7 separate regions of the Homo sapiens genome follow, and all the other regions are linked to region 5. The links are contacts of gene promoters, found by promoter capture Hi-C in blood cells and fetal thymus (Javierre and others, 2016). All regions are on one chromosome and are shown on one strand. The core of a region is centred on a gene start or on the middle of the fragment in contact, and the rest is flanking DNA. Distances in the headings are between cores, read along the strand shown.

Region 1 (2,813 bases), core at 8-2,507, 1.3 Mb before region 5:
TGAGAAAGCCATAATTCACCCCCTTCCTGACAAGGTCAGCTGCTGCTCATTATTGAATCTCCAGCGCATAGCAGGTGTGTGGCTCCACTGTAGGTGTTCAGGAAATACCTGCCCAGTGGATGAGGAAGAACTGGAAGAGGAGTCCACGGCAGCAGCGGCCGGACACGGGGTGGGAGCGCCCGCCGTGCAATAATCATTGCACCACCGCACACCTCCCAAGGGATGGGCAACTTTTCCGAGCGCTGTCACAGCTGAGGTCGTGTCCTGAGCTCCCAGGCGCCCCGCGGGGTAAGCAGGACAGCCCTCTCCCTGCAGCAGGGACGCGGCCACCCCCAGCTCGCCTACCCTCTCCCACGGCCCTGCCAGCACGCCGCGTTCCGATCGGAAGGGAACAAGGGGTAGAAAGTGTTGCCGAAACTTTTCGGGCTGCGCTGTCCTCCCCCGGCCCGGAGGCGAGGACGCCGAACAGCCGCCCGGCGCGGCCCGAAGCTGGCTTCCGACCCGGCGGGGCGAGTCCCGGGGTGCGCAGGCGGACGCGCGGAGGGGCCGAGGTCTGTGCCACAGCGGAGCGGGGCCGGGGCGAGGGGCCGCGCCGAGACAAAGCGGCGGTGGCGGCAGGACCCGGGTCGGGGCCGTGCGCGGCGGGCCCCGCGCCCCCTCACCTGTCGAGCCAGAAGGTCCAGGACGAGTGCAGCGGGACCCCGCCCGGCTCAGGCTGCAGCGCCGACAGCTGCTGCAGGCCGAGCGGCGGCTCGGGGGCGGCGGCAGCGGCGGCGGCGCGGGACCCCGGCGGCTCCCGGGCCCCGGCGGGGGGCGCGGCGGCCGGGGGCAGCGCCATTTTCTCCGCCCCGCCTGCAAGGCCGGCGGACGCGCGGACCGCGGGGCGAGCGCGGCTGAGTCACCCCCGGCCCCCGCCCCGCCCCGCCCCGCGCGCCCCGCCCCGCCCCGGGCTAGCCGCCCGCCGCCCGCCGCCCGCCGCCCGCCGCCTTCAGGGCCTGGGAGCCGCGCGGAGGGGCCGTGGGAGGCACGGCCGGGCCGGGGCCGCCGAACAAAGACAGACCCACGGAGGGATGGGGGGCCGATCCCGCTCAGGCGCGGGCCCAGCGTGGGAGACTGACGGCCTGGCCTGGAGTGGCGGCCGGGGACGGGCTAGAGGGCCCACGGGGGTGAGAGGGACCGGGGAACGGTCTGCGGGCTGGCTCTGCAGCCATGCAAAAGGGCAGCGGGATGGAGCGGCAGGCTAGGGACAGATGGAGGGATGGATGGGACAGGGGATGGAGCCCCAGACCCACGTGGTGCGAGGGAAGGAGGGATGGACAGACATACCAGCAGTCAGAAGGATGGAGTGAAGGCTGGCAGATGGCTGGAGGAGAGAAGGAGGGATGGAGGGCAGATGGAAGCACAGTTGGGTGTGACAGATAAATGGAGAGGGGAACCGATGGCCAAATGGATAAAGAGACTCCAGTGCCCGCGAGTACAGAACAAAGGGCGAGAAAGAAGAACGAACAAGAGAACCACCGACTGGGGCATGAGGTTGGAGCAGGTGGGCTTTGCATTCCTCTTGGTGAGAGCATACTTCCTAACTCCGCTGATTTGAAGGGGCCAGAGCCCCCATCCCAACCTCTGGAGCTACCATGTGACCACAGTGAAGGCCTCAAGCCTGGCTTAACGTGTGGCTAACTTCAGAGAACATTTCCCAAAATCAGCCAAAGTATCCAGATCTGCCCTAAAGCACCGGCGAGTCGGGAGGAGGAAAGCGGGCACCTGTGAACACAGAGCGCTCTGCTTCCTGTACCTCTGAGCACCCAGGAAGTCCCTTAGGCGGTGAGATTCCTGAGCCCAAAGTAGGAGGGGCCCTCCTAACACAGCATCTCCCCAGGTCTCTGTCACTTTCTTTTTCAAAAGAAAAGCAAAGGCATGAGGCCTGTGAACACACATGTCACAACCAGCATGGACATCCTCTTTACACTTGAATTTCTAGATAGTTCCTCTCTGGCTTTGAACAGTGAAGGGCGTGGGATGCCATCTCCTCATTGACCTTCTACCTGGCCTAGCATGTGTTCTGTTCATGCCTTGAGCATTCGCTGGGATGGAAGAGCTACAAAACAAGATGAGTTCAGGGGCATCAACAGCATCATAGCAGACTGTCATGAATCCCAGAGTAGATGCCCTCCCTAAAAGGTAATCAAGGTCACATAAAGTGACAATAATAAAAACAAGACCGCTGCTTTAAACTTAACTTCTATACAACATACAATGCTGGAAGCAATGACAGATTTTATAAAATCTGTCCAACACTAAAACAGGGGAGGGTGCTTTTGGTTAGATGCATTTATCTTGTTGCTTAATATCTCCTTTCATTTTTCCAAGAAGCGTGGTATATGGCATTGTTTAAACTGCTCTGAGCACTTTACCCGTAATAACTCATTTAATCCTTACAATAAGCCAATGAGGAAGATACTATTAACCCATTTTACAGATGAGGAACAGAGATAAGATTAAGATAACCCCAAGGTCACAGAGCTAGTAAGTGGGACAGCTGGGATTTGAACATAGGTATTCAGACTCCAGAGTCTAGACTTTCAACTGCCAGACTCTCCTACCTCTCTACACAGAACACTAACAAGTCCACAACGTAAAAACAAGCTGTGAATAGTAGGTCTCCCTCCCTCCCAAGACTATCAATCTTCATTCCCAGAGGAAACCACTGGCAACAGTTTCCTTCCAGAAAAATGCAAGTATGCACATGCAAGCATATATCTAGATTCATAAGTTATAAATCTATATCTTTTTTATAACCAAAATGGAAGCAT
Region 2 (3,154 bases), core at 176-2,675, 1.3 Mb before region 5:
AAAATCACATTAAGTATGGTTTTTCTTTTCCCTGGGACAGAAAAAAACAATGCCCAGCTCACAGTACATAGGAATGTGTCACAACAAATAATCAGAAGACAGATTTCTCCAAGCTAGTGTTCCTCCTTGTACAGTGTGGTATTCAAAAGCAGTATTGTCACGATTATGCATATTCTCATTAACTAGGTACAGCAGAGCTACTTAAAGGGAAACCCATTTCTTGTGCCTCAATGAAAGGGGAGTGTAGAAAACAATAATTAGGCTGAATAAGGAATTTTAAACGGCAAAAAAAAAAAAAAATCAGAGTGAAAAGAACAGAGAATTTAGAAAGCCAAAAAAAAAGTTTTTTGTGTGTGTTTTTTTTAAAAAGCAAGTAATGTGACGGTAGAAACCCACACAATCTCCCCCCACCCCACCTGCCACTTTGAGTCCTAATTGCCCATCTGCAAGGACAGAAACCCACTCTAAATTGACCAGCATCGGCTTCGGCAAGTCTTCTCTTCACTCTCCCTCCTGTTAAGACCGTTTCCAAAACCAATCAGCAAAGGACAAAGAATTCTTTACAGAGTGCAATTAGTGTTTTCCACGTCCACCTTCAAAAGCATGATGCTCTTCATGGGCTAAAGGACAGAAAAAAAACAAAAAAGAAAAAAAGGAAAGAAAACTTTAAGCAAAGGATGGGCCAACCCTCCTCTAGGCATCTCATTCAGCTTCCCCAAATGTTGGCAAGAACTCAAACACCTTATTTATTTATTTATTTTTTTGCCAGTAACTGTTAGCTAAGGCGTGCATTTCCTGAGAAACGTAATAATGAAAATTAAAACAAGGAATAAACAAGCAATGGGCATGCTGCCTGTTTCTTCTTGCTGTGCCTGGGAGGATGAGTCATCTCAGCAAGCCGATGAAGAGAGTATGTTGGGCTGCAAGCAAATGCCGCAGGGGAAAATGTGCCCCACAAAATGCATTGCAGGGGGTGGGGAGAGGGGGTGCCTGACACAACCCAAGACAGAGCCGCTTACAAGCCTATCTTTAAAAATAAACTAAAAATAAAACAAAACAAAGAACCACACCAGGGTGACAGCAATTATATCTAGGTGCCCCTGCTCCCTACCTCTCAACACTCTCCATGGGAAATGAAGTTTCATAAAATTGCTAAGTTTTATTTTTCCAAATCAAGTTTCCCCCTGCCAATAGATATTCAGACCTATCATCTGGCTTGCAAAATTACTAATTTTAATTAGGAACTCTAGAATATATATATATTTTTTTGAGACGTAGTTTTGCTCTGTAGCCCAGGCTGGAGTGCAGTGGCGCAATCTTGGCTCACTGCAACCTCCTCTGCCTCCCAGGTTCAAGCAATTCTCCAGCCTCAGCCTCTGGAGTAGCTGGGATACAGGCGTGTGCCACCACGTCCAGCTAATTTTTGTATTTTTGGTAGAGATGGGGGTCTCACCATGTTGGACAGGCTGGTCTGGAACTCCTGACCTCAAGTGAACCACCTGCCTCAGCCTCCCAAAGTAGTGGGATTATAGGCGTGAGCCACCAGGCCCAGCCGGAACTCAGGAATTTAAAAAAATTATGCTACCAAAAATATTTTCAAACACTTAACGTTTTTTAAAGTAGAAGATGCCACAGGGAGACCTACGAAATACATAACATTTTCTCTAAGGCAAAAGACTGAGTGTGACAATCTACCTCCCGGATCTGGTTAACCATTACCAGGAAGCAACGTCTGATAAAGGTGGGGTGATTCAGGACTCTGGGTGCTTTGATCCCCAACACGCTACCCACACTTAGCAGTGAATGGGGTTCTAGGGAGGCAGATGGGCTGGCCCATTTCACCTTTTAAGCCCCTTCCAGTTCTGTTTTATTTTTCTTTTTGTTTTTTAAGACTGGGTCTTGCTGCTCTGTCACCCAGGTTGGAGTGCAGTAGCATCATGCTACTCGGCTCACTGCAGCCTTGACTTCCCGGGCTCAAGCAATCCTCTCACTTCAGTCTCCTGAGTAGCTGGGATTACAGGTATGTGCCACCATGCCCGGCTAACTTTTGTCTTTTTGATTGATAGAGACAGGGTTTTGCCATGTTGCCCAGGCTGGTCTCGAACTCCTGAGCTCAAGCGATCCACCGGCCTCAGACTCCCAAAGTGCTGGGATTACAGGCATGAACCACTGTACCTGGCCTCTGTGTTTTTCATAAGGACTAAATTCTTCAGACTATTGCTGAGGGGGTGGATGGAACGGGCCTATTTTCCCTTCAACATCATCTTGGACGTTCACCCCAACCTACTCCGCACTTGGATGAAACACTGGGAGAGATGCACTTTATACCTCCCAGGTCACCTCAGGTTGGCCATACTCCTAAGGGCAGCCTGAAATCTGAACTAATTTAATAGAACATTTCTCACAGCTTTAACTTTGCAAATATTTCACATTGAGTGTGTGTGTGTGTGTGTGTGTGTGTGTGTGTGTGTTTTCTTTTTAAGAAAGATATTTAGGGAAGATATCGAAGAAAACACGCTTTGATCTGCAAGGAAATTACACTATGCTTCAGGGTCAAGTAGAGGTACCATAGAACTACAGTGACCTGGTTTCCAAACAATAAATCCAGATATACAGACTATCCAAAGATCTGTGTTACTTCTAGGTGTGAGGGGCAGTCTGGGGTGGTCATAGTTGCAAACTACAATGTTGATGGGTTAAAGAGACAGTACAACAGAACATTCAGAATTGGGAGTGCCTAGTGAACAGGTGTACTGTCAGCCTTAGGTTACCTTGGGTAGAAAGGGATTATAGAATTGCTCTAAGCCTGGAGTTGGCAAACATTTTCAGGAAAAGGAAGAGAATAAATGTTTGTCTTTATGACCATATGGTCTCTGTCCCAATTATTATTATTTGTTGTTGTTGTTTTTGAGACAGAGTTTTTCTCTTGTCGCCCAGGCTAGAGTGCAATGGTGTGATCCTGGCTCACTGCAACCTTCACCTCCTGGGTTCAAACAATTCTCCTGCCTCAGTCTCCCAAGTAGCTGGGATTATAGGCACCTGCCACCACGCCTGGCTAGCTTTTTATATTTTTAGTAGAGATGGGGTTTCGCCATGTTGGCCAGGCTGGTCTTTAACTCCTGACCTCAGATGATCTGCCTGCCTCGGCCTCCCA
Region 3 (3,162 bases), core at 37-2,536, 1.4 Mb before region 5:
AGTGAGGGGCGTCCAGGCAGGATTGGAAAGAGGAGAGGGAGGCAGAGCCCCGCGGACCAGAGAGAGGAAGGGAACGCCAGAGCAGTCCCTGGCAACAGAGGGATCTGGCAGGAAAGACCTGGAAAATAAGGGGCAGGGGGGCGGAGGGGGAGATTCCTCAGGAGATGGGAAATGGGGGGCCCATTCAGACAGCGGAAAAAACGAGAAGGGAGAGTGTTAACTAGGGACGAAGATGGGAATGCGATGGCTATTTGCTTGGATTCTGAGCTAAAAATATGAAAGGGAGGGGAGAGGACAGGCTAGAATGTGAGTTTCCTCCAGTTAAAAGTGAAAGTGTTTTGCCATCAGTGACAGTTGAAGGAGAGCGGGGTGGGAGGTGGTGTTTTCAACCCCCTTTCTCCCTCTCTCCCGTCCTCCCTCGGTCTCTCCTCTTTCTTTCTGCACTTTGTCCAATGAAAGAAGGCGAGTTCGGGAGGTGAAAGTTCAGCAGAAGGACAAACCCCTGTTTGCAAGGAAACAGAAACCCCGCCAGCCAGCGAGGGGTTTTCTCCCCTGTTTCTCGGAATCAGGAGAGTGTGAATGTGGGACGAGCTTCTGCCCCCTTGTCAGAGCCACTGCAGGAATGTGCAATCGAGTCCACTTTGGGGGAAGGTGGCTGCATCAGGAACTGTGTTCTTGCCACGACTCCTCTTAGGAAAACGCCTGGGGGCTAGCATGTCAGTCCGTTGTTTAACACAAATTACCTGCTCTCCCAGTGATCAGTCACGTGCAAAAAGCTTTGTCCAATTCTTTGAAAAGGTGAGATTTTTTTTTTTCTTTTTGCGGTTTTTGAAGTTTGGTTGAATTTAGAAATTCGAAGGAATAAACTAAGAGCCTGAATTAAATGTTTTGAAATATACATACATAAAACAAAAGACACTAGTATTTCTTTCACTTTTATCAATACGCATAGAGAAGGAAGCAGAGTATGTGTTTCCAAAACGTGACTTGGAAAGCTGTAAGACCTCTATGTCTTGTTGTTGTTGTTGTTGTTGTTGTTAACAGAAGTAAATTTTTTCAGACCCACCACCACAGAAGTGGCCAGACTCCCAAACCAGCATTTCCAGCTACTGGCTGGCTGGTGTACACCAGGCCAATTCTTTATGAGAATATATTAAAAGTCACCCCTGTGGATTCCTACAAAGTACTTCCCCTTGCGGGGAGGGGAGAGGCTTACTGTCCCTTTGGTCTTGAGACCAGCACAGTTGTAGATAATATCCTGAAAAGGTTATTATTAAATTCTTTCGCGTAATGCCCCTTTACAAATATTGTTAAACATTAATTTACAGAAGAACTTAAATCTTAATTTCAAGGGTGGCATAAGACTATCGCTTTGAAATTGTATCTTTCGCAAGTTAAAAAAAAAAAATAACAAAGCCATTCGCTGATGCTACAGAATAAAAGAAAGGGAGGCTGCTAAGGTAATTTCAGCCTGGTAGAATTCACATTGCATGCATGCTGCATAAAGTTCCATGCTATCCAGATAAGACTATTCACTGAATCTTTTAGACTAGAATCTAGACCAATAAAATGCATTTTAGTTTGTATGGAATGTCCTAGCTTCCTAGAGGCTAGGGTTCGACGTCTTGTTTGTCAAGACATAAAGGGATTAATGACATACCCACTGTGTGCTAGACCACAGAGTGGGCACAGAGGGATGAAAAAATAAAAATTCCTGCCCTTGAGGAGCTCACAGTCTAAGCTGTCAATAATAACATCTAACATTTATTAAATACTATGATCTAGGCACTGAACTAAAAGCTTTATGTCAACTCAGTTAATACTGCCAACAACTCTTTGACATCACTGGAAATTCCATATGCTGAATTCACACGGAATTAAGTGGAAATCTACAAAGTAGCCAGTCTACTGGTTCTGTAGTGGTCAACCTATTAAAAATGGTTTTTAATTTCTAAAGTACTTTATGCCAAATATAACATGTTTATGGTATATGCCTGACTGTAGAATTATAACTCAGGGGAATAACGACTTATTTAAATGTAACAGATCTATTCATAGTCTGTAAAGAACAATTCATCCTCTGATCTTGTTTTTCAGATTAAGCAGTGTGTTTATTAAAAATTATTATCATCGCAATACTAAAAAGATCTTTAGATTGCTGCTAATCTGATTCTGCATTTTAACTGCCTTAAATTCTACATTCACTTGCAAGTGGGGGCCACAGTCAGGTTGGCAACAAGTTTTGCAGACAAAAGGAAATCCTGGTTGTAAATCCCATGATATATTGTACTCAATTTTGTATGATACTGTCTAATGTGCTGTGCTGCCTTATTAAAGAACTCGATGTCCATTTGGTTTACATTAGAGGGAAACTTAACTGCAGCTTAACATATTGTTCATTTTCAACACTGTCACGTTACATTCGTGGGGGGCAGATTTTAATTTCTTTATCAGTAATCAACTGGAAGTTTCTTTTTGTTAAATTAAAGCAAGAAAGGTTTTAAAATAAAGGGCATGGGGGTAGGACGCCACCTTTTGGTGATAAAACAAATAGAAATCCCTTCTGAAAACAGATGTTCCTGACATAATTTTATTTTTAATTACACCAAGGCAAAGGTGCTTGTCCCCATTTCGTTATATTTTAAGTAACAGGAGAAAAAAAAAACCAATGTAAATGCAAAATTAGCAAATTATAGTTAACTGCAGCCAAAATTTTCCCAAACGTATCAGAATATGTTAGTCCCCTGTCACATTACTGTTGATTGTATACACCAAACATGAGCTTCATTCACCAAATACCATGTCACTAAATATATGTACATTTGGGGAACAGAAACTGGAGTGGACATTTACCACCTGACGACGTACCTGAATGCTCTTGTAAGTTTTGAGTTGAACAAAAACTAAAACCACTTAATTTAGTGTTTCTTTAACCACAGTTACTGGTGTCCTGATTTTTGCCATATCTATATGACATAACAGTTCCCGAATAATTAATATACCATACTCATTGGAGGCCACTTATTATGGTAATTGTAGCAAACATTTTCATTTAAATCAACCTTCTTTTAATTTTTTTCTATTACTGCCTTAAATGGGAAATCAGTATCACCCACCATAAATTAAAAACAAGCACAGTAAAAACAAAGTCACTGATTTCTC
Region 4 (2,864 bases), core at 70-2,569, 1.3 Mb before region 5:
ATTCTCAATATATGATCAGCCAAATGGAGATGGACCAGTTAAAATACTGAAATCCCTTCACATCACAAGGGTAGGAGCAGTTGCCCTGAGTCCTGAGAGCACACACACTCCCACTGCACTGGTGGAACAAGCTCGTTCCTGGAAACCCCCCAGTGATGCAGGAGAGTAAGGGAGACTCAAGCCCGAAAGAGCCTTGAAGGCCTGTCTAGAGGCAAGGGCTGGTTTGCTGTCATTGACTGTTACCCACATCACACCAGTCGCTAGCCAGCTTTACAGGGCTGTCATAGCCACAGAGGTGGGGTCTACAAAGACTATCATGTGACAGGCCTGAAATACATGATAATAATAGTTATGCCCATTATATAGACAGGGAAAGCTAGGCTAAACGAGGTTAAACAACAGGGCTAAAGCCATGTATGGAACCAAGATATGAATCAAGGCGAGTTGGACTCGCAAGCTTGCGCCTCTCAACCCTGATGTATGATTGGAGAATCATAAGTGCCCATTTAATGACAGCATAAAGGAGCTTCCCTCCTAGAAAGAGCCATGGCATCAAGTGGATTTCAGATGTCCATGCTCATCTAAATGTCGCTCTTGAGGATTCGTGTAAAAGGCAGGCATGGACCCAGTTGCTACATGTTTTAATTATGGCATCAGACTTATTACATGGAAACTGCTTTTCTCAAATCTGAATAGAACATACTGGTCTCAGCCATGGCATCAACTGTGACAGGGGCACAGATCGTCTTCTTGACAGGATGTGATTCTTATGTTTGGGCACTCTGAATGGGCCATGAGTTGAGCCTCTGTTGTTCTGTGTGAACTCTGAGGATAGGGGTGGAAGGAGAAAGCGTGTCAAGATCTAATTCCATATTGAGAATAACATTATTACTTTAAAACTTTTATCAGGGTAGAATACTGCCAGGATATATTAAAAACAATAAAGGTTCACCAATTAGAAATGTAATTCTCACACTGTGGTCACAACACAGTTCCTATACCCACAGTCTTCTGATTCCACATCCTGCTTCTCCATCAGGTATTAATATTTGAGTACGAGATAGTCACCTGGGGGCAGGAGGGTGCTTTCATGAGAACAGAACATAAGGCAGTTAAGTTTTGTTAAGAAAGCGGGGAAGAGGCAGGTACATTACTGGGAGGAGGCCAAAGTGTAGATTATTCTAGAAGTAATCTAGGACTTTGCTATTCAGCCTGTGGTTCACAGACCAACAGCATGGGTGTTGCCTGGGAGCCTGACAGATGTCAGAATCTGAGGCCCACTCCTGGCCTAAGGATCAGAGTCTGTATTTTAATCAAATGCCCAGGCAGTCAGTATGTATGCTCATTGCTGCTGGAGAAGCTCTGCTCTAGGGGGCCCAGCCTCTGCTCACACTCAGTGGGTAGGACTTGGTGGGGGTGGTGTGAGCAGAAAATGAAGCTGTAAGAGATGGGAAGGTACCCAAGTGTTTGCCTAAGAGGTTATCCTGTCTGAATCGGCTGGAGGGAAAAAAAATTCTGTTCTCCGATGATGAGCAGGCTGCGGCTGCAGTTGCACACAGCGTGATGACCATCTGTGTATAAAAAGTGAAGCTGAAAAAAAAAAGAAAGAAAGAAAGCCAAGAAAAGAAACACTGTGCAGGAGTGCAGAATTGCTACAGAGGCTAAGCATGGCCAGGTGTTTAAGCAGGAAAGCCAGTCTTGAAGATCAAAGGCAAGTCGATTGTAAAAGAGAACATCTTGCCCACCAAACCCGGGCCCTCTGAATGGAGAGAGAGCGACATCTGAATAGACCAGATGTTAGCAGCCGAGGGATCCTTAGAGCCTAGAATAAACTCACCTAAATAGCTCTGTGGCATCAAAACCTCATTATCTGCCAGGCCCACCGCTAAATACAAACACAGGTTCTATCAGCTGATGTGAAAGAAGTCCTTCCAGGCACCCAGCTGAGGCAGTAGGAATTTTCAGTCTCTGTTGTAAATGGGCAGTAATTAATTATAGGACAGACACCGAAGCCCAAAAAAATAAGTTCTGTTTTGCGGATGACAAGGAGATGTCGTTTTTGGAAAGAGCTGTGTGAGCACTTCGTGGTAACCAGTCTGGGGCCATCACAGGTGCTATCTCCTGCAGGCCTGACACGGGGCAGGCTGGTTATTTTTATGAAGGATGAGGGCCTGGGGCTCTGAAGCTTCCACCCCCTCATGCTTGCACTTCAGTTCCAGTACCCCAACACCATCCTTCCACCAGCAGCCCAGCAGAATCGTGGGGCACTGGCAGGGATGCGAGCGTTTCATCAACTTGTGAATTTTCCACAAGTACAAGCTGGTCTCCTCTTAATTGCCCCCACAGAGATTCTCATAAATACTTTTAAATATAATAATTGTTATTGTTATTTTACTTTGTTCTTCTAGATGGCATTTTTCCTTCAAGCAACTCAAAAGAATGATTCTGAAGTTATCCAATTAATCTTTGCAACATTCCTGTGAAGAAGAGGGTTGGGGGGCGGGGGCGGCAGTTTCTTTACGTTTCTGGAGGAGAGGGAAGGAACAGCAAGGTTAAAGGGACAGAGTGAAATAAAGATGACCCTGAAATAGAAACTGGGAAGCCTCGTGCTCCCAAAGGGTCCTCAATTTCCAAGTTTATTATCATCCAAAGTGTGCAACTGCTTAGGCCAGTACCCTATGTGAAAAGCACTAGTATTCAGATCTTGCTGTCACCTCTCAGGAAGTCATGACTTTGTGCAAGTCATTTAGCCTCCTTGGGCCTCCATTTCCCATGCGTCAAATAAAGAGGATATCTTAATGGAATGTGGCATAGAAAAGATCCAAGGCCTCTCCTTCAGGGTAGCAAACCCTCTGGAATCCAAC
Region 5 (3,094 bases), core at 491-2,990:
TCTCTCTCTCTTTTTTTTTTTTTTTTTTTTTTTTTTGAGACGGAGTCCCATTCTGTCGTGCCCAGGCTGGAGTACAGTGGCTGGAGTATCTCGGCTCACTGCAACCTCAGCCTCCAGGGTTCAAGGGATTCTCCTGCCTCAGCCTCCCGAGTAGCTGCGATTACAGGTGCCCGCCACCAAGCCCAGCTAATTTTTTTTTTTTTGTATTTTTAGCAGAGACAGGGTTTTGCCATGTTGGCCTGGCTGGTATCAAACTCCTGACCTCAGGTGATCCGCCTGCCTCAGACTCCCGAAGTGTTGGGAATACAGGTGTGAGCCACCGTGCCCGGGCAGTACCTTTTCTTTTAAAAGCTCACAGATGAGTATAAAAATGTCCACGCACTGGCTGGGAGCCAGATGATTTGGGTTCTGGGTTCTAGTTCTGTCTCCCCAGACTTGCTGTCTGTGACACAGCTTTCCCATTTGTAAAATGTCAGGGCTGCAGAGGACTTCTGAGGTTTCCGCCCTCTCCTACCTCCTGGGAGATTATGTCATGTAATAATGCTAACAGTGGTAATAAAAACCCAGCCACGTTGAGTGTTCCAGGTTTCACGCACTGTGCCAAATGTTTCACATTTGCCATTTCACTCAATCCTCGTGGCCGTTTTACAACCCTCATTTTATAAATAAGAACCCTGAAGCTGCCTGAGTTTAGGTAACTACTTCAGGGCCACACAAGGAGTAAGTAGTTGAGTTGGGATTTGAATATTGATTCCAAACCTTGAGCTCTTAATGACTTTGCTGTATACATTACTTCTTGCCACAGGTGGGCCAGTGACGAACGAACGTTGGGTTAAGCAGGGAGGTATTCTTGTTAGGATTATTAGCAATGCTTAGTGTATGTATGTATTGTTAATTTTATTATTATTTTTTTGAAACAGTCTCGCTTTGTCGCCTAGGCTGGAGGCAGTGGCGCGATATCGGCTCACTGCAACCTCCGCCTCCTGGATTCAAGCGATTCTCGTGCCTCAGCCTCCCGAGTAACTGGGATTACAGGCACGAGCGACCACGCCCGACTACATTTTGTATTTTTAGTAGAGACGGGGTTTCGCCATGTTGGCCAGGTTGGTCTTCAACTCCTGACTTCAGGTGCTCCGCCCGCCCCAGCCTCCCAAAGTGCTGGGATTACAGGCTTGAGTCACCGCGCCCGGCCTGTATTTATTTTTATATAGAGAAGGGCGAGGGAGCGGGGTCATTTTGTTACCCAGACTGGTCTCGAACTCCTGGGCTCAAGCGATCCTCTCGCCTCGGCCTCCCTCCCAAAGTGTTGGGATCACCGGCCTGAGCCCCCTGCCCGGCCTCGCTCTACGTTTTTTAGGCGCATTCTGAACGTGAAGTGTATACACTGAATTCTCACAGCAACTGCATAGGGCATCAGTACCAGTGCCCTTACTGTACAGATGGGGAAAATGAGGCTCAGACAGGCGAAGTAAGTAGCTTAAGTTCACACAGAGAGGAAATGGCAGGGATTCAAAGCCTAGGAGTCCGCCTGCAACCCTCTCGCCTGACCGTCCAGTCTTCAGCTCCGCGGAGCCTGGGCCTGGGGCTGGGGCTGGGGCTGAGGCTCTGGAAGCCGCCGGGACGCAGACGCCACTGGGCCCCAGCGTCACACCTCGGCCGCGCACGCGCTCTCGGGTTCCGGGCCGGAGCGCGCGGCGGGAGCGAGGACGGCGGCAGGGAGCGTGCGCGCGGTGACGTACCGGGCGCCATGTTGGAGGGTTGGTGGTAGCGGCTTGGGGAGGTGCTCGCTCTGTCGGTCTTGCTCTCTCGCACGCTTCCCCCGGCTCCCTTCGTTTCCCCCCCCCGGTCGCCTGCGTGCCGGAGTGTGTGCGAGGGAGGGGGAGGGCGTCGGGGGGGTGGGGGGAGGCGTTCCGGTCCCCAAGAGACCCGCGGAGGGAGGCGGAGGCTGTGAGGGACTCCGGGAAGCCATGGACGTCGAGAGGCTCCAGGAGGCGCTGAAAGGTGGGGGTAGCTGCCCCCTCTCCATTCCCCCTCACCTTCTCCGGCTCGCTCTTCTCTCCTTTCAGGGCGGATGGTTCCGAGGACCGGGGCCGGGCGCGGCGTGGGGAGAGTGCTTCCCGGGCTCCCATCCCCCTCCACCTCCCCAGGGGCGGGGAGCCCTGTGGGCAGCTCTCTCCCGCCCCGCTCTGGCTTTGTGTCGGCCGCCGGCGTCTGGGCTGGGGGAGGGGAGCCGGGGAAACTCTTGCGGGGGCCCCAGTCTTTCTCCCACCCGTTCAGGGGACGAGTGGCGGACCCGCAGACCCCTCCCTCCCAGATATCCTCTTTTCTCCACCAGGCTACCCGTACGCTAGGCGTTGGGGTGGGAGAAAAAGTAAACGGTTGGTGGGGGCGGGGGTAGGGGGTAGCATCGCAACTTTTAAGTTGTCTCAGTATGCCTTTTTCAGGGCTTTTGAAGTCATCTTTCCGCGCCCTAATTTCGAGGTGGTTGCCTTCACTGTTCTTGATTGCACGCCTTCCACGCAACAGGCTTGAGAACAGTGGCTTACAAACTTCGAGTAGAGAGATTTCAGCGTTTTGAGAATTATTCTTTGACATTCAGAATCATTTGGGGACGGCAACTTGGGGTAGTTGGTGCTTCTTAGAAAGGCAGATTTATGGACTTAGATGAACAATTGGTGGGAGTCGGGGCCTGGGGATTTTTATTTTCACTGGATTCCCAGCTTAATATAATGCTGGTGTTCCCCCGGACCACACTTCGAGAAGCACTGCGTTAAAAATGGTTTGTGAAGTTGAGTGCCCCCTTTAGGAGGATTCTTGTTATCTGTAAAGAGGGTGACATGTTGGAAGTAGAACTTGGAGGATTGAGGTGGTAATTTGGTTGAGAGGCCTTATTTTTTTAATTTTGTATTTAATTGATTTTTAATAAGGTAAAGGACTAGGAGGAAAGTTTGTTTTTAGAGCGCTTTTGAGAAAACTGATAACGTTTTTTTTTCTTCCTTCATCTAGATTTTGAGAAGAGGGGGAAAAAGGAAGTTTGTCCTGTCCTGGATCAGTTTCTTTGTCATGTAGCCAAGACTGGAGAAACAATGTGAGT
Region 6 (2,800 bases), core at 109-2,608, 1.4 Mb before region 5:
AACATTTGGACTTCTTTAGTAAAACAAATGTAATTTCTTCCTAAACCACCTCTATCACTGATGGATGAACTGGTGTAGCTTTTATTGAAGGAGTAGAAAACTAATTCTAGGGGTCATATTTCTCTCTGCCCGAAAGATTCCAAGACATGTGGAGATAAAATAACAAATAATATATCAGTTTTTCATATGAAATAAGCTATTTTTTATCAAATCATCTTAAAGCAAAACAATCCGTCTCTGCAACACAAAAGCAAATAAGTATTGAAAACTTATTTAAGTAAGATCGATTTTGCTAATGTCAAGCTTAAGGCAACTCAGCAAGAAATGACAACAACTGTACTAAATTATCTACATTCGTGACATCTTAGCTGTGTCTACAAGGCACCAAAACACTGTGATGAAAAGTAAAAGTCAGTAATTGCCCAGATGTTATGTCTAGTCACCAACAGCTGGAACTTCCTCAGTATTTGCTCTCTCTCCCTTTCTCTCTAAGCATCTTTGGGAGTTTGCTAACAGACCTTTTCCCACCACTCCTCTCTGTGGCTTCACTCTGCTTTGGCCTTCGTGAGCCCCTTTTCAGCCAGGCTGCTCCTGGACTTATATGTTGACAGCTCATAGTGCACTGGGATGGAACCGAATTCTTGTCTCTTGGAATTGTCTGAATTTAAAAATGCCTTTTCTATTAAGTCAAAGCCTATAACTCTGCCGTGATCATTCTAAGAGTTAAAGGAAGCAGAATCACCTCCACAGCCACACCCTTTTCTTCTCTTCCAAATGTTCTTCTTATCTCAACCTACAGAAATGGCTTCTCTTGTAAGTAAAGGCTACTCCCTTCTCAAATCAACATCTTTAATGGCAAGAAGTCAGAATGAGAGTTCTCCAAACACCCTTCCACCTCTCCCCAAGCCTTCTTTCAATAATTCATTTTTATTTGGAGTTCCTACCCACAATGAAGCCACCATCTTTGCATCCAGAGAGTAACAGGACAGCATGCTTATGATAAGCTATAAAGTCACACAGCCCTGGGATCTAATCCTGGTTCAGCCACCTTATGACTTGTGTGACCTTGGGCAGGTCACTTCCCCTCTCCAATCTCCAACCTCCATGATCCACATCTGTGGATTGGATACATGCCTCACAGAGTTATTTGAGGATTGTGCTAGCTCAAGTTTTCTGAGAAGCATTCACCAAGAAGGGATTACACGTGCAAGAGACATATTGGAGAAAATGTCTGTGAGGGAAAATGGAGCTGAAGGAGGCTAAAAGAGTGTCAGACCACAAAGCTGGTCTGACTGCAATGAGGGAGGAAGGATTTTGAGTTGGGAAAGTCTTAGGTTATGGTGCAACTCCATCAAAGTTTCAGCAAGGTCAATGAAGCATCCTGGAGCCAAGTCACTTGTGTCTCATGGTAATGGGCCCGCATTAGTATTCCTGTGACACTCAGACATTGGTCTGGAGAAGGCTGTGGGAAGCATGGCATTGATGCAAACATAGTGGTGAATTCAGTGTGCAGCAGTTGAGACCATCGGTCACTATATGCTTCTGTCAGCGGGAAATCTGGGAAGGGCTTCTTCATGGCCACCACCAGGATTAAATGTAATAATGAACCCGAAGCTCCTACCTCTACCTCAGAGTAAGAGTGGCATAAAATAGGGGTGATGGTGATGGTGATGGTGATGACAATGATGGTGACTCACTCTTCCTATTTTACTAAAGTTCTTTGACTCTGACTCACGGTTTTTATCCACACATGTTCTGCCATCATGCTGTGAGGCTGCAAAATCCTTGTTAATGAGCTAATCTGGTGTATCCGTGTTCTCCTGTACTCAATTGACCTTCCCTTCCAAACACTTCAGCAAACACCTACTTGGCAATAACCTACATTTTATCATCACCCAAACAATCAAGATGAATCTTATGATCATCCTAGCTGGATGAAATATTCCCAATCTGGATGAAATCCTCTCCATCTGGAGAGATATTCTAGGCTACTAATGTAGGAAGAAGGGACTGAGACAAATCCTGGAAGATGCCCTAAGTGGAGGACACAGAGGTGGGAGTCCAGAAAGGCCAAGGTGGCTGAAACTCACAGGGCAGAGTATGAGAGGAGAGAGCTAACTGCAGAGGGTGCTCCAGAGACTTCCAATGAGTCCCTTGATTATTCAGCTGAGACCTGATCAGTCATGCATGTAAGGAAACTGTCCAAAGTCCGGGGGAAAAAACACACCCAAAAAGATTAGAAAGAACAATTCCTAGAGAGCTCACAGATGGCCAGAAATAGCAGATGATCCCTATGGCCAGCGTGGAAAACCTGATAATTCACAAGGCATCAGGTAGAGTATTCAGAAGAGTCTTGCTTCAAGAGGTGGGAAATAACTAGCCCTCGATCAAATGCTGACCTGGTCCCACTCAACAAAGCTTAAAAGTAAGACCCGGCCGGGCGCGGTGGCTCACGCCTGTAATCCCAGCACTTTGGGAGGCCGAGGCGGGTGGATCATGAGGTCAGGAGATCAAGACCATCCTGGCTAACAAGGTGAGACCCCGTCTCTACTAAAAATACAAAAAAAAAATTAGCCGGGCGCGGTGGCGGGCGCCTGTAGTCCCAGCTACTCGGGAGGCTGAGGCAGGAGAATGGCGTGAACCCGGGAGGCGGAGCTTGCAGTGAGCCGAGATTGCGCCACTGCAGTCCGTAGTCCGGCCTGGGCGACAGAGCGAGACTCCGTCTCAAAAAAAAAAAAGTAAGACCCACGGCTGGGTGCGGTGGCTCATGCCTGTAATCCCGGCACTTTGGGAGGCCGAG
Region 7 (2,969 bases), core at 12-2,511, 1.3 Mb before region 5:
CCAAGAATCAGGTCATGAAGCCACAGAAAGAGGGACACATGTTGAAGATATTTTCCCACCAGTAAAATGCCCATAATTCACAAGAGGCTGGTGGTTGTCAACTCCAGCCTGAGAACCTGGTTACGATGTGGCAATGACCTCTGTAGAATTTATGCACAAAATAACATTAAGAGGAAAACCCCTGCCTAAGGTAAAACTAAGAGGACTTTGGTGCTGGCAAACTTCAAGTCTCCTCAAAGGCATCACAAACCAAAGTTCCTGCCGTCATACCCCGGTCAAAGTTGTCAAATCTTGACTTTTTAACCTAGTACTTGAAGCACACTGAAAAAATACAACAAAACACTTCTTCCATTTCAAAGATCAGAAAAACACTAAAGATCATGCTAAGGATTGGAGCTTTAGAAGCTTCTCTTGAAAACAAAAACAGACAACTGATTCTGCTTGGCTTGGCAAATTTGACAGGAAGAGATTACAGCCCAAGAAGATCAGTGATAGACTTAACATATTCATTAAAGCACATATTTGTACGTTTTTGCTGAGCATAAAATAGGAGCAAAATATCCGGTCACACCATTAAAAAAAAAAAAAAAAGCCCTATTTGAAAAGCATGTGTCATTAAACTGGTCTGTTTCCCTGTTGCAAACCTCATCCAATAGGTAGAATATTTGTGAAGTATGTCTGCTGGTGAAATACCTACAGGAAGGAATCTAGCATTACTCAGCTCCTGAAAACCTCTTCCGCCCTTGCAGAAGTGAAAGGTCTGCTACAGCGGAAGCCTGGTAATTCAAGATTATACTCTCTGTAACACATCTTGAAAATGGAAACACTTAAATTTTACTATATATAAAATCTTGCAAATAGATTTCAGAAGCCTTTAGGCTTATAATTAATTCTGTTAGACTTGCAAATCCAAGATTGCAGTAAAAGTAAAACTAAGCACAATGTTTATTAATGATGGTTAAATGCTTTTTTTTCCCAAAAGCCTTGATAATCACCCTAAGACTAGGAGAGGTATAAAAGTTGAACATCATTCATTCAGTCAACATCTGTGACCATCAGTTGTGAACAGAGCACTGTGACGGGTCCTTGGGGAACTTAGCTGAATGCAGGAGGGTCAGCTTTTGACCACAGCAATCCACTCCTTGGGAGGTATGTTCTGGAACACCAATCTGGCACCTCTCCTGGAGAAACTGAGGCAGGGAAGACACCTGTCCAGTGGAGTCTAATACCTGGATTTAAGACCTAGGTTCTCAGCATAACCTTCACAGGTCATGTAGCCCGTGAAACCCACGTTGCCTCCTCTGTATAAGGATACAGCTATTTCACTGGAAAATGTAATGATGAAATGCAAAGTGAAAGCACTTGCTAGGCCTAAGGAAGGAAACAAAGTATGGTTAGACCCATTAATATGCTGACCACTTGATAAATCCCCAATCTGATAGCACTGATTGGAGCAACTATGCCCCACCTTACAGCCTTCTGCCAAATAGATAATCATTCATTACCAAGAAAACTGGCAAATTTCCTCCTCAATTTCCTACTGAAATGTTCTGAAGAAAAAGAATGCACTTGGAAATTCTTCAGAAGAAAAGATGTCATGTGTTGACAGACAACAAAGTGATATGTCTGTTTTGTAAAACAAACCAGAAACAAAACCACCCAGCAAACACACATCAAAAAAAAAAAAAAAAAAAAAAAATTCCAGGATTTATTCCAAGGTTGTGGCATGTGTAGCAAGAGAGTATTTCCAAAAAAACAAAACAAATATTTTTGCTCATTAGGTATTACTAGTTGCCTGGGGCTTCCCACCAACTGAATAAGTGGTATTTATGGGCAGGGCCAATAGGCATCTGAACCGAATAGGCAACTGAAGAGTTTAATGGATGTTTTTAACTCACAGCAGACACAAAGGCTGAAAGCAAAGTGCTTCTGATTTACAAGAGCTAGGTACTTGAGAGAGAAATGGGTTTTCCTTTGAATTCCAAAAAGGGCTTGGCTTAAAGAGAGAGCCCAAGTGTGGAGTTGTGATCATAGAGTAAACGAGATGTGACAGGATGTGAGGGTAATTTCCCACCACATAGAAAGTTAGTAAAAACCAACTCTGAGTTGGGGAGTTAAAAGCTTGGAGAGAGAGGACAGTGGGGTTAAAACCCTGAAAGGATGGGAGAGAGCCCCACCCAAAGATTGGGGATGCCTAGACCAGAGGAGTGTGGAACCTGCTTCCTGGTACAGCCCAAGAGGCTCCAAGACTCCCAGAAAAGGCCCTCATTCCTACAGCGCTGAGCAACATGGCGGTCAGGTCTGAGAACAGCTGTGAAGGCAGGAGGGGTTATTCTGGCCGGGAGGGCCTGCCACAACCTTATAGAGTTCCCCTCATTCTGGTGGGGTCGGGGGAAGGCAGCCAACATTTCCTAAATCTCCAATCTGGAGCTTGAAATTGCTAGAAAGCCTAAGGACAACAGGGCCTGGGGTCTGGATGTGTGTGTACATAGCAGGGGTCTTCATAACATGAGGTTACAGCAGGGCCAAAGGTGGTGGGCATGGCCCAAGGTCAGGAGGGGTCAGGGGTATTTCTGCATATGCCTGTTCATATGGAGAAGGAGAAGAGGGTGGTCATTTTTCCCAAAAGAGATTTAAATTAGAAGAGACCCAGTTTCACAGTTGAAGTGACTAAATTACTTTTAATTAACAAGGTCAAGTCTCACCCCACCCAATACACAGACACAACAGCCTCCACTGAGAATGTGGAGGAATACAAGCAATTTAACTTCAGTTATATTTCTTCATAACTGGATTGTAGCTATAGATGTTGATCCTATTATGCATATAATGAATAAACTAAATGATGGATAAAGAATCTTGTTATACTGGATGCAAAGTCTGTGCTAGACAGAACTATGAAGTGGACCTGGCTGCAGGTCCTTCTCTTTCTCTTTTCAGTGTTGGCTTTCCTCCTCTCTCCCCTCAGG

What was found. The method cuts DNA at HindIII sites, captures the fragments that hold promoters and counts their contacts. A CHiCAGO score of 5 or more calls a contact.
Region 1: a contact is called between a fragment that was not itself captured here and the fragment with the promoter of PPP4R2 in region 5, in 5 of 17 cell types (total CD4 T cells, naive CD4 T cells, naive CD8 T cells and 2 more). The highest score is 7.3, in total CD4 T cells.
Region 2: a fragment that was not itself captured here is called in contact with the fragment with the promoter of PPP4R2 in region 5 in 1 of 17 cell types (total B cells); the score reaches 5.2 in total B cells.
Region 3: a fragment that was not itself captured here is called in contact with the fragment with the promoter of PPP4R2 in region 5 in 1 of 17 cell types (fetal thymus); the score reaches 5.5 in fetal thymus.
Region 4: a contact is called between a fragment that was not itself captured here and the fragment with the promoter of PPP4R2 in region 5, in 1 of 17 cell types (fetal thymus). The highest score is 5.5, in fetal thymus.
Region 6: a fragment that was not itself captured here is called in contact with the fragment with the promoter of PPP4R2 in region 5 in 1 of 17 cell types (total B cells); the score reaches 5.1 in total B cells.
Region 7: a contact is called between a fragment that was not itself captured here and the fragment with the promoter of PPP4R2 in region 5, in 9 of 17 cell types (total CD4 T cells, activated CD4 T cells, non-activated CD4 T cells and 6 more). The highest score is 11.6, in total CD4 T cells.

The regions. Positions count from the first base shown.
Region 1 is chr3:71,724,530-71,727,342 of GRCh38, forward strand. EIF4E3 (eukaryotic translation initiation factor 4E family member 3) reads right to left here and starts at 873. Exons shown (of 7, transcript NM_001134651.2): 1 at 663-873. The coding sequence starts at 838. RefSeq lists silencers at 278-397, 528-597. The HindIII fragment of the contact is 7,460 bases long and covers 1-2,813 here.
Region 2 is chr3:71,684,109-71,687,262 of GRCh38, forward strand. It overlaps EIF4E3 (eukaryotic translation initiation factor 4E family member 3), which reads right to left. Exons shown (of 7, transcript NM_001134651.2): 7 at 1-620. The coding sequence ends at 574. Among named protein-coding and RNA genes, the nearest start is that of EIF4E3, 40 kb to the right of the region's middle. The HindIII fragment of the contact is 8,614 bases long and covers 1-3,154 here.
Region 3 is chr3:71,584,212-71,587,373 of GRCh38, forward strand. It overlaps FOXP1-DT (FOXP1 divergent transcript), which reads left to right and starts at 732. Exons shown (of 1, transcript NR_182289.1): 1 at 732-3,162. RefSeq lists an enhancer at 1. The HindIII fragment of the contact is 1,024 bases long and covers 775-1,798 here.
Region 4 is chr3:71,658,739-71,661,602 of GRCh38, forward strand. It overlaps a transcript of EIF4E3 not described here. Among named protein-coding and RNA genes, the nearest start is that of EIF4E3, 65 kb to the right of the region's middle. The HindIII fragment of the contact is 1,728 bases long and covers 456-2,183 here.
Region 5 is chr3:72,995,071-72,998,164 of GRCh38, forward strand. It overlaps PPP4R2 (protein phosphatase 4 regulatory subunit 2), which reads left to right and starts at 1,741. Exons shown (of 9, transcript NM_174907.4): 1 at 1,741-2,001; 2 at 3,007-3,088. The coding sequence starts at 1,968. LOC124909395 (a long non-coding RNA gene) reads right to left here and starts at 2,121. Exons shown (of 2, transcript XR_007095961.1): 1 at 2,037-2,121. RefSeq lists enhancers at 1,366-1,415, 2,676-2,725 and a silencer at 1,596-2,225. The HindIII fragment of the contact is 5,282 bases long and covers 1-3,094 here.
Region 6 is chr3:71,600,289-71,603,088 of GRCh38, forward strand. No RefSeq gene overlaps it. Among named protein-coding and RNA genes, the nearest start is that of FOXP1-DT, 17 kb to the left of the region's middle. The HindIII fragment of the contact is 2,115 bases long and covers 302-2,416 here.
Region 7 is chr3:71,702,137-71,705,105 of GRCh38, forward strand. The region is part of intron 2 of EIF4E3 (eukaryotic translation initiation factor 4E family member 3); the gene reads right to left. Among named protein-coding and RNA genes, the nearest start is that of EIF4E3, 22 kb to the right of the region's middle. RefSeq lists an enhancer at 1,640-2,221. The HindIII fragment of the contact is 1,716 bases long and covers 404-2,119 here.